Linked DNA regions of Homo sapiens: all the other regions are linked to region 3. Evidence: promoter capture Hi-C in human tissues and cell types (Jung and others, 2019). All regions are on one chromosome and are shown on one strand. The core of a region is centred on a gene start or on the middle of the fragment in contact, and the rest is flanking DNA. Distances in the headings are between cores, read along the strand shown. Region 1 overlaps GATC (glutamyl-tRNA amidotransferase subunit C). Region 2 holds the start of CABP1 (calcium binding protein 1). Region 3 holds the start of P2RX4 (purinergic receptor P2X 4). Region 4 holds the start of COQ5 (coenzyme Q5, methyltransferase). Region 5 holds the start of DYNLL1 (dynein light chain LC8-type 1).

Region 1 (2,700 bases), core at 100-2,599, 750 kb before region 3:
GCTACAGGCCCCCGCCACCACGCCTGGCTAATTTTTTTTTTTTTGTATTTTTAGTAGAGACGGGGTTTCACCCTGTCAGCCAGGATGGTCTTGATCTCCTGACCTCGTGATCTGCCCGCCTCAGTCTCCCAAAGTGCTGGGATCACAGGCATGAGGCACCGCGCCCGGCCTCTTAGCCATTTTTTAATACTGTCCAACAGAAACTATAAACTCCAGAAAGTCCAAGGGTTACCTTTGAATAGTATAATTATGATTTTTATTTTACTTTTGTTCTCCCAAGTTTTCTTAAATGAATACAGTCCTTGTGTTATTCAAAAAAAAAAAAAAATCTAGTACAACTCTCTTTTGTGTGTGTGTGTGTGAGACACTGTCTCACTCTGTCACCCAGGTTGGAGTGCAGTGGTGTGATCTCCGCTCACTACAAACTCTGCTTCCTACATTCAAGTGATTCTTGTGCCTCAGCCTCCCAGGTAGCTGGGATTACAGGTATGTACCACCATGCCCGGCTAACTTTTATATTTTTAGTAGAGACAGGGTTTCACCATATTGGATGGTCTCGAACTCCTGACCTCAGGTGATCCACCTGCTTTGGCCTCCCAAAGTGCTGGGATTACAGGCTTGAGCCACTGTGCCTGGCCTTTTTTTTTTTCTTCTTGCTCTGTCGCCCAGGCTTGAGTGCAGTGGTGCCATCTCAGCTCACTGCAACCTCCGCCTCCTGGGTTCAGGCGATTCTCCCGCCTCAGCCTCCCGAGTAGTTGGGATCACACGTGCGTGCCACCACGCTTGGCTAGTTTTTGTATTTTTAGTAGAGATGTGGTTTCCCCACGTTGCCCAGGCTGGTCTTGAACTCCTGAATTCAGGTGATCCACCCGCCTTAGCCTTCCAAAGTGCTGGGATTACATGCAAGAGCCACCACACCTGGCCTTTCTCCCCCACACCCCGCCGCCCCCCTCCAAGAAATTTAATGTCTGAAAAGATCATACTTGTTCAAGGCCACACAGTTAAGAATGTGCCAGGTCCTGTAACAGACTTCAACTTTCTAATATTCATACCATGAGTAAATATTTGTTGTGTCTAGCTTTGGGCTGGGTGCCACAAAAAAAGAACTAGTCCTTTCCTAAAATAATCTTATTGTGACAACTTAGTTCTCTTTTTTTTTGAGGCAGAGTATCGCTCTGTCGCCCAGGCTGGAGTGCAGTGGCGCGATCTCGGCTCACTGCAAGCTCCGCCTCCCGGGTTCACGCCATTCTCCTGCCTCAGCCTCCCAAGTAGCTGGGTCTACAGGCGCCCACCACCACGCCCGGCTAATTTTTTTGTATTTTTAGTAGAGATGGGGTTTCACCGTGTTAGCCAGGATGGTCTCGATCTCCTGACCTCGTGATCCGCCCACCTCGGCCTCCCAAAGTGCTGGGATTACAGGCGTGAGCCACCGCGCCCGGCTGACAACTTAGTTCTTATGTGCAGCCTTAGCCCAGATGTACCTGTCACATCTTTGTCCCTCTCTGACATGACTCAAACGCCATTAGGGTCTGCCCTCAGTCTGTGCCCACTCAAAGCAGGAGGAGCGTGGCTACTACCGAATACCATATCAGTGATTTAACAGACTGCTTATTTTTTTAATCTAAGTATCTGGAAGCAGGCTTACACACTTTTACACCTTGAAACAATAGTGAAGCCTCATGCAAATGTTCAAGCTCTTGTGTGTTTTTTACCGGTTTGCCATCTGAAGGCTTTAGTAAAGTCACTAGGTCCCACAGAACACTGGGAGATTCTTGAGCTGTTGGTGGCACATCTTGCTCAAGGGCAGGCACATCCACCAAAGTGGCTGTGGTGGAAAAAGCATTCATTTTAGGTGTATCAGATTGGGCTGAGATCCCAGTTGTTACTTAGCAGCCAACATCCTTAAGTTACTCTTGTGGCAAGTTTGCTTCCCCATCTCTGCTTAGCTTTCCAGCTTCATCTTCCACCCCGGCAGACCACACCCCAGCCTGCTAAACTCCCTGTCCTTCTCTGAATCTCTGAGCTCTCGGCTCTATTGCTTTGGGATTCATGCTGCTATACGTGCCAGGAAGTCCATTTCTCATACCTTCATCCCCCAATCCAGCTATTTCTTGCCCATCCTTGAACAGTGACATCAGCTATTCTGAGGATGTGCTACTCACGCAGGCTGGACTAGGTACCCTTTCTATCCTTTGGCAGGCTGTACTAACCTCTGTTAGATTTAAAATATTGTTTTTGTAATTGCTTTTACCTGTCCCCACCAAAAGACAGTTGCCCATATAATCATCAAAAACTATTTGTTAAATCAATCCAGAGAAGTAATTAGCACTTACTTCTCAGGGTTGTTCGGTCAATCTATAAACTGTAGGCTGTTATTTGGTCTACTGTTGATCCCAGCTTCTCTATCTTTGAACAGTGCCCATTAACTCAAGAATATACTGCTTCCTTGTTCTCTCCTTCTTGCCCCTCTCCATCATCCCCTAAAAGCCCCCTTCTCTGAGAGGGTAACCTTGAGCTTCTGGGTTTTGTAGATGTCTATACCTGAGATCCGACAATGTGGTAGAAGGCAACTGTGCTGATGAATTACTACAAAACTCCCATCGCGTCGTGGAGGAGTACTTTGTGGCCCCCCCAGGTACGTGCTGCCCAGAATGGTTTAACAGATAGTCTCACAGTAACCTTAGGAATGAAGCAGGAAGC
Region 2 (2,700 bases), core at 51-2,550, 570 kb before region 3:
CTCGGCTCACTGCAACTTTCACTTCCCGGGTTCAAGTTATTCTCATGCCTACAAGTGGCTGGGATTACAGGCGCCCACCACCACGCCTGGCTAATTTTTGTATTTTTAGTAGAGACAGGGTTTCACCATGTTGGCCAGGCTGGTCTCGAACTCCTGACCTCAAGTGATCCGCCGGTCTTGGCCTCCCAAAGTGCTGGGATTACAGGTGCGAGCCACTGTGCCCGGCCTCGTGTATCCTTTTAATGAGGCCGAGCGGTGACAAGACTGTGGATGGCATTGGGGCCAGGGACCAGAACAGGGAGAGCCTGGGAGGAACCCCTCCAGCCCCCCGCAAAGCTCAAGCACCGGATACTAAAGAAGAATGGTAGATGGGGCCTCACGATGTGCAGGGGGAAGGGAACTGGCTTAACTGGATGGTCCCCTGTCCGAGCACTGGGCTAGGCCTTTTGTGTGCATAGTATCGTCTGCTGTTACCAAGAAATTAGTTATGCTTATCATCTGCATTTTACAGAAGAGGAGAACAAGGCTCAGAGAGGTTGATGACACCTGCCCAAGTTACCCAGATGGTAGGTGGCAGAGCTGGGATTTGAGATTCAGATAAGGCCTGGGACGCTCCCTGGCTGCCCACCGAGAGCAGGAATTTCTGTAGCATCTAGAAAGGCAGGAAGGTGAAAGAGGGGACAAGAGCTGGAGGGGGAGCAAATGGGTCCTACCTGAGACTTACCATCATCAGGTGCTGCCAGACCTGGCTTCTCTTCTATTCTGAGAACTGATATCCTGTGGCTGACTTACCAGGGTCGTCCTAGTCCCCCCGCACGGTATTGGGAGTGGAGGCAGCCCCACACGGAGGCGCTGGGAGACTTTCCTCCCAGCAGTGTCCTGTCACTGCATTCCGGCCCCTGCGTTTGTAGGCAGTGATGTCACAGAGTGCCTTCATGCTCCTCGGGTCTCCGGTTCTCCCCGGACCTCTGTAGTCCTCATTGCCAAAGTTGTACCCCCTGGGGAGTGCACCCTGCCTGCATTTCTGGAGGTTCGGGCGGTTCCGGGGCTCTGCAGGAGCCTCCAGGCGTGATAAAGAGCGCTGCCGGCACTCCCGGGGTCTCGGCCTCTTTGGGGCCCATTGCCAAGCCCCTTCCCTCCTCGTGCTCCCGCTCCGCGTTGCAGCGTCCCCTTCGCCGCCAGGGGCCGCCCGGAAGCGGGGCTCCCCCAGGGCGGGGCGGGGCAAGGGGCGGGGCGCGGCGGTACCTGGGCCGCCAGGGAGCCGGGGGTGGGCTCTCCGGGGACAGCCGGCAGCGCCCCCAGATCTGCACCGCCAGCCGCCGGGAGCTCCGGGCTCCGGGCGTAGAGGCTGCGCTGTCACATGGGCGGCGGCGACGGGGCCGCATTTAAGCGGCCGGGGGACGGCGCCCGCCTCCAGCGCGTCCTCGGGCTTGGCTCCCGCCGGGAGCCCCGTTCTCTGCCCGCCGGGGGCCCCGCGCCGCGCCGCACCGCGCCGCCCCCGCCGGGCCATGCGAGCGCGGGCCCCGCCGCGATGAGCTCGCACATCGCCAAAAGCGAGTCCAAGACGTCGCTGCTGAAGGCGGCGGCGGCGGCGGCGAGCGGGGGCAGCCGGGCTCCCCGCCACGGCCCTGCCCGGGACCCGGGGCTGCCTAGCCGCCGGCTACCCGGCTCCTGCCCGGCGACGCCGCAGTCGTCCGGGGACCCCAGTTCGCGGAGGCCCCTGTGCCGGCCGGCGCCGCGAGAGGAGGGCGCGCGGGGGAGCCAGCGTGTGCTCCCCCAGGCGCACTGCAGGCCCCGGGAGGCGCTGCCGGCCGCGGCGTCCCGACCTTCGCCGTCGTCGCCGCTGCCGCCGGCCCGCGGGCGGGATGGGGAGGAACGGGGACTGTCCCCGGCGCTCGGCCTCCGGGGCTCTCTGCGAGCCCGGGGCCGCGGGGACTCCGTTCCAGCCGCCGCGTCCGAGGCGGACCCGTTCCTCCACCGGCTGCGCCCCATGCTCAGCTCCGCCTTTGGCCAGGTAAGGGCCGCGCCTCCCGTCAGCGCTCCCGGGAAAGGCGCTCGGGACCCTGCCGGCCGCGGTTGCGCGTCCACAGCCTCCTCCCGCGGCCCGTGGTCCCCCACGGATCACGCCTCGGCTCACCTCGTCCTCCCCGGGCCGGCGCCCTTGCCGGCACTCCTCCTCCCCGTGCCTGATTCAGCACCCCGTGCGCTGTCCACGCTCCGGGCCTCTTGGGGCAAGGCCCTCCCCGCTAGCCTCCCTCATACCCGCCAGAACCCGCCAGTCCTGGAAGAGAGCGACCTCTACGACCGTCCTGGAGATTTGCGGGGGTCAAGGAGGGGCGCTCCGAGCAGGTGGCGCCAAACCCACTCCTCTGGCCTCTGGCCAGTACCGCCAGGGAGGGACTCAGGAGAGCAAGCGGTTTGGAGTCTGGGGGTCAAGAGAGGGGACCTCAGAGAACACAGAATTACTTGAGGGCGAGGGACACTGGCCACTGCCTATCATGTCCCTGAAGGCCTGAGAAAAGTTAGGAGATCCAAAAATATGAGGAAAGAGAAGAGGTGTCTGGGTAGGCATGGAGGGGCATGCAGAGCTGTGGCTCAAACTGGAACTTTGGGGTGGTTTAAGGAGGCTGTCACTCTAGGGATGCCATTGGAAGGGTGAGAAAGGCCACAAAGAGGTCATCAGTGGTTCCCTCAGGCCTT
Region 3 (2,700 bases), core at 37-2,536:
AAATACAAAAATTAGCTGGGCGTGGTGGCGGGCACTTGTAATCCCAGCTACTCAAGAGGCTGAGGCAGGAGAATTGCTTGAACCTGGGAGGCGGAGGTTACAGTGAGCCGAGATCGCGCCACTGCACTCCAGACTGGACAAGAGTGAAACTCCGTCTCAAAAAAAAAAAGAAAAAGAAAAAGAAAAAACGTATCTGAAGGGAATGAACAAATACACATGCGGAAAATTGTATTCATGGGGTAGAACGGTGGCTGTTTCCCCCCCTTTCACTATTTTCTCTCCTAAAGTTGTGATAGCATTTTCTCAGTGGAAAGGATGACCACAGAATTATCTCCCCTGGGCTGCAACTAAGGAAGTATTTGGAGTGAGAATGCGACCAGGCTTCAAATCCAGGAGGGGTATTTTACAGGGCGTGTGGCTCTCACCCAGGGCTCACAGGACACCTGATATTTAGGCTGTTCCCCAAGAGGCTAAGGACAGCGCGGCCCCAGCTCCCCCAACCACAGCTGCCCAAGTTTAGGAGCCCGCACTCGTGAGCGATGGCTACTCCGCACAGCCCCGGGGTCCTCTACGGAAATCCCTGGCACCTATCAGTACCCCTAAGGGAGGTCGCTCGTTACCCCTCACTTGAACTCTGTCCCAAATGGGAGGTCACTCTCTCTTCGCGGACCCCATCTTCCCCGAAAGGGTCTCTTGTTCTCTCTGGCCCTCCTGAGAAGGTCATTACTCCCCAACTCGCCTTTTTTGTTGTTTTTTGGTTTCTGGTTTATTGAGGCAGGGTCTCGCTTCATCTCCCAGACTGGAGTGCAGTGGCGCGATCACAGCTCACACGGCAGCCTCTACCTCCTGGGCTCAAGCGATCCTCTCACCTCAGCCTCCCTGGGACTACAGGCGAGCGCCACTACGCCCGCTTTTTTTTTTTTTTTTTTTTTTTTTTTGTATTTTTGATAGAGACGAGGTCTCGCTATGTTGTCCAGGCTGGTCTCTAACTCAAGATTCCTCTCACCTCGGCCTCCGCAAGTGCTGGGATGACAGGTGTGAGCCACCGCCCCCGGCCCCTCGCCCGCCTTTTGAAGGAGCCTTTCGTCCTCAAGGGCGAGGCCACTCCCCCCCCGCGAGTTCCATGCCCCCTAGAGGGTCATCGTTCCCGACGGGGAGGTGGCGCCCTCCCCCGGGCCCCGGGCCCCGACCGCCCGTGCTGCCTCCTTCCGGGCCCTCCTCCGCGATGACGGCGCCGCCAGCAGGCCAGGCGGACTGGGCGGGGCTCCGAGCGGGGACTGGGACCCAGACCGACTAGGGGACTGGGAGCGGGCGGCGCGGCCATGGCGGGCTGCTGCGCCGCGCTGGCGGCCTTCCTGTTCGAGTACGACACGCCGCGCATCGTGCTCATCCGCAGCCGCAAAGTGGGGCTCATGAACCGCGCCGTGCAACTGCTCATCCTGGCCTACGTCATCGGGTGAGCGTGGGGCCGCGCGGGGGGCGCGGCGGGTGCTGCCCTCGCGTCCGCGCCGTGCGGCGGCTCATCCTGGCCTCGGTCACCTGGGCGAGTCCGGGAGCGGCGAGCCGAGGCGGTGACACCTTCCCTGGGCCCCAGCCGCCGCGCCGGGGCCCCGGGGGCGGGAGGCTGCTTGCTGCTGTTTTAAAACCACAGCCTGGGCCAGGCGCGGTGGCGCAAGCCTGTAATCCGAGCACTTTGGGAGCCCGAGGCGGGACCATCGCCTGAGCCCAGGAGTTCGAAACCAATTTGGGCAACATCGTGGGACCCCGTCTCTGCAAAAAATTAAAAATCATCCGGGCCTGGTGGCGCGCGCCTGGGGTCCCAGCTACTCAGGAGGCTGAGGTGGGAGGATCGCTTGAGCCCAAGAGGCTGAGGCTGCAGTGAGCTATGATCACACCACTTAACTCGAGCCTGGGAGACAGTCCGAGACCCGTCTGTTTACAAAATAAATAAAGGCAAAGCCTGGCTAGGCTGTTACCCTCTCCTGCCTGACCCCCCATAGTGCCCCTTGGCTGTAGGGGCTTCGCCCTGAACGTCTCAATCTTCGCTCTCCACTTCCCATCCTGCTGATTTGCTGACAAAACCAAAGCTTGGAATTTCCGCTTGGTTCCTTCTGGGTGGGTGGCTTTTGGTCATTTCTTTTGATCACTATGCGGTGTCACTATGTGGTAGTAGCGAGGTCAGACTGTAGCGAGTGTTTAAAGTTTGCTTCCTTTGTTTTCTGGGCTTGTGGGGCTTTTTGTGGTACCTGCCCTAGCCTAGTCAGTCATTCCCCATGCTGCCCCCTTAGGCTAGAGATGCCCTACCGCCCTCAGGCCTCGCTGAATGTGCCATTGTACTTGAAGGCACCTGTTACTTTTTTAATTTTTTTATTTTTTTGAGACGGAATTTCTCTCTTGTCGCCCGGGCTGGAGTGCAATGGCACGATCTCGGCTCACTGCAACCTCTGCCTCCCGGGTTCAAGCAATTCTCCTGTCTCAGTCTCCTGAGTGGCTGGGATTACAAGTGCCCGCCACCACGCCCGGCCAATTTTTGTATTTTTTAGTAGAGACGGGGTTTCAGGCTGGTCCTGAACTGACCTCAGGTGATCCGCCCACCTCAGCCTCCCAAAATGCTGGGATTACAGGCGTGAGCCCCCACGCGGGGCTGGCACCTGTTACAATTGAATACAACGCGAGAGAGAAGATGATAATTACCTTGCC
Region 4 (2,747 bases), core at 10-2,509, 680 kb before region 3:
ATGGCGTGAAGCCAGGAGGCGGAGCTTGCAGTGAGCCGAGATCGCGCCACTGCCTTCCAGCCTGGGGGTGACAGAGAGAGACTCAGTCTCAAAAAAAAAAAAAAAAAAAAAAAAAAAAAAAAAAGAAACCCCGTCTCTACTGAAAATACAAAAATTAGCAGGGCACAGTGGCAGATGCCTGTAATCCCAGCTACTCAGGAGGCTGAGGCAGGAGGATCGCTTGAACCTAGGAGGCTGAGGTTGCAGTGAGCCCATATTGCGCCATTGCACTCCAGCCTGGGCAACAAGAGCGAAACTCCGTCTCAAAATAAATAAATAAATAAATAAATAAATAAAAACAACCAAAAAAACCCCTATTTTTCTCTAGAGGTAAAGAACGGGGGCTTCAGACTCAGATTAAACTGGGTTTGAATACTGGTTCCGCCACTTACTGATATGTTCAACTGGGCAACTTCTTGCTTAACCTTTAAGTCTCAATTTCCTCACGTGTAATATGGTAATAACAATACCCACTACTGGAATGTTGAAAATGAGAATTGAAAATAATGTCTGTACGTTGCCTGGCACATCACAAACGCTCAGTTGATGGGATTTAGTCATCAGTATTCTGCTTTTAAAAAGGGGGCGTCTGGCTGGGCGCGGTGGCTCACGCCTGTAATCCCAGCACTTTGGGAGGCCGAGGCAGGCGAATCACCTGAGGTCAGGAGTTCGAGACCAGCCTGGTGAAACCCCATCTCTAGTAAGAATACAAAAAAGTTAGCCGGGCGTGCTGGCGGGCGCCTGTAATCCCAGCTACTCGGGAAGCTGAGGCAGGAGAATCGCTTGAACCCGGGAGGCGGAGGTTGCAGTGAGCCAAGATCGGACCATTGCACTCCAGTGTGGGCAACAAGAGCGAAATTCTGTCTCCAAAAAAAAAAAAAATCATAACTGCACAGACAACAACACTGGAACTAATTGGATGTTAAATCAACCCTAACTGGCCAGAAGAAACCAGACCATGGACGGTCAGATCCCTCCCATCCGCCCTCTCGCCCCTTTCACCTTTGCCCCCCTTCTCCTCTTCCGACACAGTCTCAAACCCAAAGTGCGTTTCCGCTGCCCGCTTCTCTTGGGACAAGAGCCGAGCACTTAGTAGGTCCCCGGGCCAAGAGCTACGAAGCCCGAGGAGCTGGCAGCCCCGCATCGCCCGCGACCACCCACGGCCGCAATAGCTCCATAGAGCACAGCTCCCGGGGGCCGCCATCTTGGTAGTCGAGTGACAACGGCCAGAGAGTACGCCTTGTTGCGTCACTCCACGAACGACGGCGGCTGGCCGGCAACATTATTAGCCGAACGCGCCCTGAAATCTGATACACAGTTGTGCCGGCATTATCTCTAGGATCCAAAGGGTGGTCTCTAAGTATCGGAAATCCCTTCCTCTCTCTCTTCTCAAATTGAATTTACAATTCACCAGGAATCAGGGGATCTCAGGGGAGCCCCGGGTCACCTCTTAGCGGCCATGTCTCTGAATCCGGCTAGGCAGAAAAGTACTAACTCGCAAGATATCCAGGAACTCTTGTTGTCTTGTGCAGAAGGGGGAAATTGAGGCATGGTGTGGTTAAAAAGCCAAGATCACGGGCCAATTCCTGCACACTTTGTTGAGCGTAAGAATCACTTGGTTTACGTTTTAAAATGAAGATTCCTGGGTCCCCAACTACCAGAGATTTTGATCTGACCTATATCCCTTTAATCTCTATTTAAACAAATTTCTCTGGCGATTCTGATGCTAAAGATGCAGACCATTCTTGAGAAACATATGTTACACTACTCTGAAAAATAAACATAGGACAGACTTCTTTGTTCTGTCCGTTTTATGAACCTAGGAAGCTCATAAATGGGAACGAAAGCTCTGGTATCCACTTAGCAAGCCAGAACCACCACTCACACTTGGTCTCCTGCTGACACAAAGCTACATTCCTAGCTCCAGGTGGCATGTCATGGGTGTTTTACTTCAGCCCCAGATTTTCAGTCTTTTTTTAATGGCAAGGGTAATGCAGACCGTCTTGTGCAAAATAAAGAACGGACGTTGTTGAGTTTTGCTTGGATTACTGTATGTTTCTGCTTTCATTCCATTTTAAATGTATGTTTCCTGTAAATATTTCACGAGGAGAAAGCGCCAATAGAAGAAACTGTTTTGAAATGAAAATTCTCTTCCTGGTTTAATATAGCCTGACAGATGGACACCTAACCGCTTTCGTTTGGGAAGTACTGCGCTGGGATTTCTGTTTCTTTCTCTTTTATTTTAAGAATGATAGAAGGTCCTCGTTGGTATAGTGATGAGAAAAAAAAAAGGAAGGATACAAGGGCGAAATGATTCATCCATGTATTCATAATTCTCATGTCTTTGTTAAAAGAAATTAAGTGGCTGGGTGCGGTGGCTCACGCCTGTAATCCCAACACTTTGGGAGCCCGAGGTGGGCGGATTGCATGAGGTCAGGAGTTCGAGACCAGCATGGCTAACATGGTGAAACCCCGTCTCTACTAAAATACAAAAATCAGCCAGGCATGGTGGTGCACACCTGTAGTCCCAGCTATTCAGGAGGTTGAAGCAGGAGAATCCCTTCAACCCAGGAGTCACTGGTTGCAGTGAGCTGAGATTGCACCACTGCACTCAAGCCTGGGTGACAGAGCCAGACTCCATCTCAAAAATAAATAAATAAATAAATAAATAAATAAATAAAGTCTCATCAAAGAATCTTATATCTTCC
Region 5 (2,700 bases), core at 152-2,651, 710 kb before region 3:
AAAAAAATCATGAGGATGATTTAGGAAATTTCCCTGGGGTTTCTACTTAGTGGAGTCACCGTGGCTTTACTTTAGTGTCATTTGCATTTCCAGGGTCCTCACTTGTTGTCAACCTATTTCTTCCTCAAGAGAGGTACTATAGTAATATTATAACTCCTCAAACCCTGAATCTCATCATTAGAAACATGGAACTGGAAAAAGCTGTTGATTTAATTGATATGCATATGTTGAACCTGAAAAGGTTCTAATTATTGCCATTTTTTTCCTTTTTTTTTTTTTTGAGACGGAGTTGCCCAGGCTGGAGTGCAATGGCGCGATCTCGGCTCACTACAGACTCTGTGTCCCGGGTTCAAGTGATTCTCCTGCCTCAGCCTCCTGAGTAGGTGGGATTACAGGCACGTGCCACCATGCCCAGCTAATTTTGTATTTTTAGTAGAGATGGGGTTTCTCCATGTTGATCAGGCTGGTCTCAAACTCCTTACCTCAGGTCATCCACCCGCCTCGGCCTCCCAAAGTGCTGGGATTATAGGCATGAGCCACCGCACCCGGCCTATTCCCATCTTTTTCTTTCTGGAGTTGTGTGCCTCTGCTCAAATTGTTTTATTTTTATTTTTTGAGATGGGGTTTGGCCATATTGCCCAGGCTGGTCTCCAACTACTGAGCTCAAGCGATCCCCTTGACTCGGCTTCTCAAAGTGCTGGGATTACAGGTGTGAGCCATCATGCCCAGCCACAAATTGTTTTAAGGAGTAATGAGAGTAGATGGTCAGAGGAAAATGTAGAAATGTAAATAGGAAGCTTCCAGATACATGATTAACCTGATAACTTATTTATGGAGGTTCGAAAAATACATTATAGGCATTTCAGAGCTGGTTGTTCAAAACCTTGCTGTGGCCTTTGGGATAGTTGTATAAACTGACAATTATTGATAAGATTCATTGATCATTTACTATGTGCCTCACATTGTGCTGAGAGAACTTCAAATGTTTAATACTGCTAACAAGCGTATGAACTGGTTTCCTTTTACATTTAGTCCTCCTTTACTTAAAGAAGACATTCAAATAGCTAGTAAATGACAGTGCTGGGATTTAAATCCAGATCTGACTTGTCCCTCAACTCCCCCAAGATCTTGCTTTTTTAACCACTTCGTGTCTCCTCCCTAAGCCAGAGGGGACGTCATCTCTCTAACGGCCGCTTTTTCGTCCATTAGAATACCTCCTCCTCAGAGATAAATCCCAACCAAGAATCTCTCCCACACAGGAAAGACTGCCTCACCTGAGCAAGAAGCTTCACCCTGGACAAAAACCCCGGGGCTCAACACTCCCAAATCCACCCGGATCCCCATCCCCAACCCCTTAAAGGATGTCCGCATTGCTTGGCAGAGACCCCACTCTTGGGGATAATCCCTTAATTCGTAAGGAAACACCCTCCCTCCTTGAAGCCCTCCCTCAATCCTGAGGATGCCCTCCCCTAAATATTTCAGAGCAGAACCGACTACAAATGGGGCCCAGTGCAAAATGAAAACGTAAGGGTCCCTCCTGTGAGACTGCACTGCTGGTTTACCCACGAAGCCGGCCCTGCTTCAGAGATACCCTTTCAGTAAAGGGAGAGGCCACCTCTGTCGTAATCCTGCTAACCTGGGGTGCGAGATCATGCGACCTGTCGTGGTGGGGGGGCGGGGGGGTGGGGGCAGGAATGGCCACCAACTTCTAGAGACTGTTGTTCGAGAACACACCCTGGGACAACCTCCGTGAATTTGGAATCACTTCCCTTGGCCCCGGCAGAAGCTCCCTTCCTACCTCTCCAGACAGCTGGGTGGTCCTCGTAACCCGGCCGGGGCTCCACCTTCTGGGTGTGTGGGCCTCGTAGCGTGCGGCCCATTGCCCGGGCAACCGACGCCGTGAGCGGTGCATTGTGGTCTGCAACAAAATGCAGGAGAAAGATCCTGAGGGAACCATGGAGTCAATGGACCAATGGAAGAATGCCGTGGGCTGCGTCAAGCCAATAGGGTCGCGCGGCGAGGGGCGGGGCCGGCGGGAGCAGGGCGGGGCCTGAGCACTAGGCGGCGGCGGCTGGCGTGGGGCTGCTTAGATGCGCCACGGTTTCGGTAGCGACGGTATCTCTAGCCGGGCCTGAGCTGTGCTAGCACCTCCCCCAGGAGACCGTTGCAGTCGGCCAGCCCCCTTCTCCACGGTGAGAAACTCGGGGGGCCAGGGGGTGTCCTCGCTGCCTTATTTCGCCCCACTCCGGACTTAGCCCTCCGCGTAGCCCGCGCTTCCTGAGAAGTGGGGTGGGGGGCGTCGTCCCGTGGTGGCGCCGGCCGGGGTGGGGGCAGTTAGTGCCTGGGGGGCGCGGCCCAACTCAACCCCTTACCCCAGGCCTTGCCCACTAGGTAACCATGTGCGACCGAAAGGCCGTGATCAAAAATGCGGACATGTCGGAAGAGATGCAACAGGACTCGGTGGAGTGCGCTACTCAGGCGCTGGAGAAATACAACATAGAGAAGGACATTGCGGCTCATATCAAGAAGGTGAGGATGGGCGCGGGGGCCGATACGCAGCCGGGAGCAGGGGGTTCCTTCCCCCCGATCCTGCTTTCCTAAGGGCGCCTGACAGGTCCCGGGAATACTGCTGGCGGCTTGGGGCGTAGAAGCTTCCAGAAAGGACGCAGATGCATTTTGCGCTCCTGTGGAGAAGACCAG

The links. Contacts are between HindIII fragments. The study calls those that stand out against the background at their distance.
Region 1: a fragment that was not itself captured here is called in contact with the fragment with the promoter of P2RX4 in region 3 in 2 of the 25 tissues and cell types used here (bladder and spleen).
Region 2: the fragment with the promoter of CABP1 here is called in contact with the fragment with the promoter of P2RX4 in region 3 in 2 of the 25 tissues and cell types used here (dorsolateral prefrontal cortex and lymphoblastoid cells).
Region 4: a contact is called between the fragment with the promoter of COQ5 here and the fragment with the promoter of P2RX4 in region 3, in 2 of the 25 tissues and cell types used here (dorsolateral prefrontal cortex and mesenchymal stem cells).
Region 5: a fragment that was not itself captured here is called in contact with the fragment with the promoter of P2RX4 in region 3 in 1 of the 25 tissues and cell types used here (dorsolateral prefrontal cortex).

The regions. Positions count from the first base shown.
Region 1 is chr12:120,454,545-120,457,244 of GRCh38, forward strand. It overlaps GATC (glutamyl-tRNA amidotransferase subunit C), which reads left to right. Exons shown (of 4, transcript NM_176818.3): 3 at 2,532-2,635. Among named protein-coding and RNA genes, the nearest start is that of GATC, 9.5 kb to the left of the region's middle. The HindIII fragment of the contact is 8,224 bases long and covers 1-2,700 here.
Region 2 is chr12:120,639,326-120,642,025 of GRCh38, forward strand. It overlaps CABP1 (calcium binding protein 1), which reads left to right and starts at 1,301. Exons shown (of 6, transcript NM_001033677.2): 1 at 1,301-2,014. The coding sequence starts at 1,361. It overlaps CABP1-DT (CABP1 divergent transcript), which reads right to left and starts at 1,197. Exons shown (of 2, transcript NR_183426.1): 1 at 725-1,197. RefSeq lists silencers at 1,161-1,460, 1,681-1,780, 1,791-1,960, 2,181-2,280. The HindIII fragment of the contact is 37,846 bases long and covers 1-2,700 here.
Region 3 is chr12:121,208,843-121,211,542 of GRCh38, forward strand. P2RX4 (purinergic receptor P2X 4) reads left to right here and starts at 1,287. Exons shown (of 12, transcript NM_002560.3): 1 at 1,287-1,456. The coding sequence starts at 1,323. LOC105370032 (a long non-coding RNA gene) reads right to left here and starts at 1,230. Exons shown (of 4, transcript XR_001749352.3): 1 at 1,007-1,230. RefSeq lists a silencer at 993-1,732 and an enhancer at 2,063-2,112. The HindIII fragment of the contact is 10,060 bases long and covers 1-2,700 here.
Region 4 is chr12:120,527,899-120,530,645 of GRCh38, forward strand. COQ5 (coenzyme Q5, methyltransferase) reads right to left here and starts at 1,260. Exons shown (of 7, transcript NM_032314.4): 1 at 1,042-1,260. The coding sequence starts at 1,243. RefSeq lists enhancers at 250-1,020, 1,021-1,790, 1,137-1,596. The HindIII fragment of the contact is 25,598 bases long and covers 1-2,747 here.
Region 5 is chr12:120,494,025-120,496,724 of GRCh38, forward strand. It overlaps DYNLL1 (dynein light chain LC8-type 1), which reads left to right and starts at 2,089. Exons shown (of 3, transcript NM_003746.3): 1 at 2,089-2,192; 2 at 2,392-2,529. The coding sequence starts at 2,398. It overlaps NRAV (negative regulator of antiviral response), which reads right to left and starts at 1,922. Exons shown (of 2, transcript NR_038854.1): 1 at 1,799-1,922. RefSeq lists silencers at 1,633-1,682, 1,973-2,492 and an enhancer at 1,747-2,413. The HindIII fragment of the contact is 4,647 bases long and covers 1-2,700 here.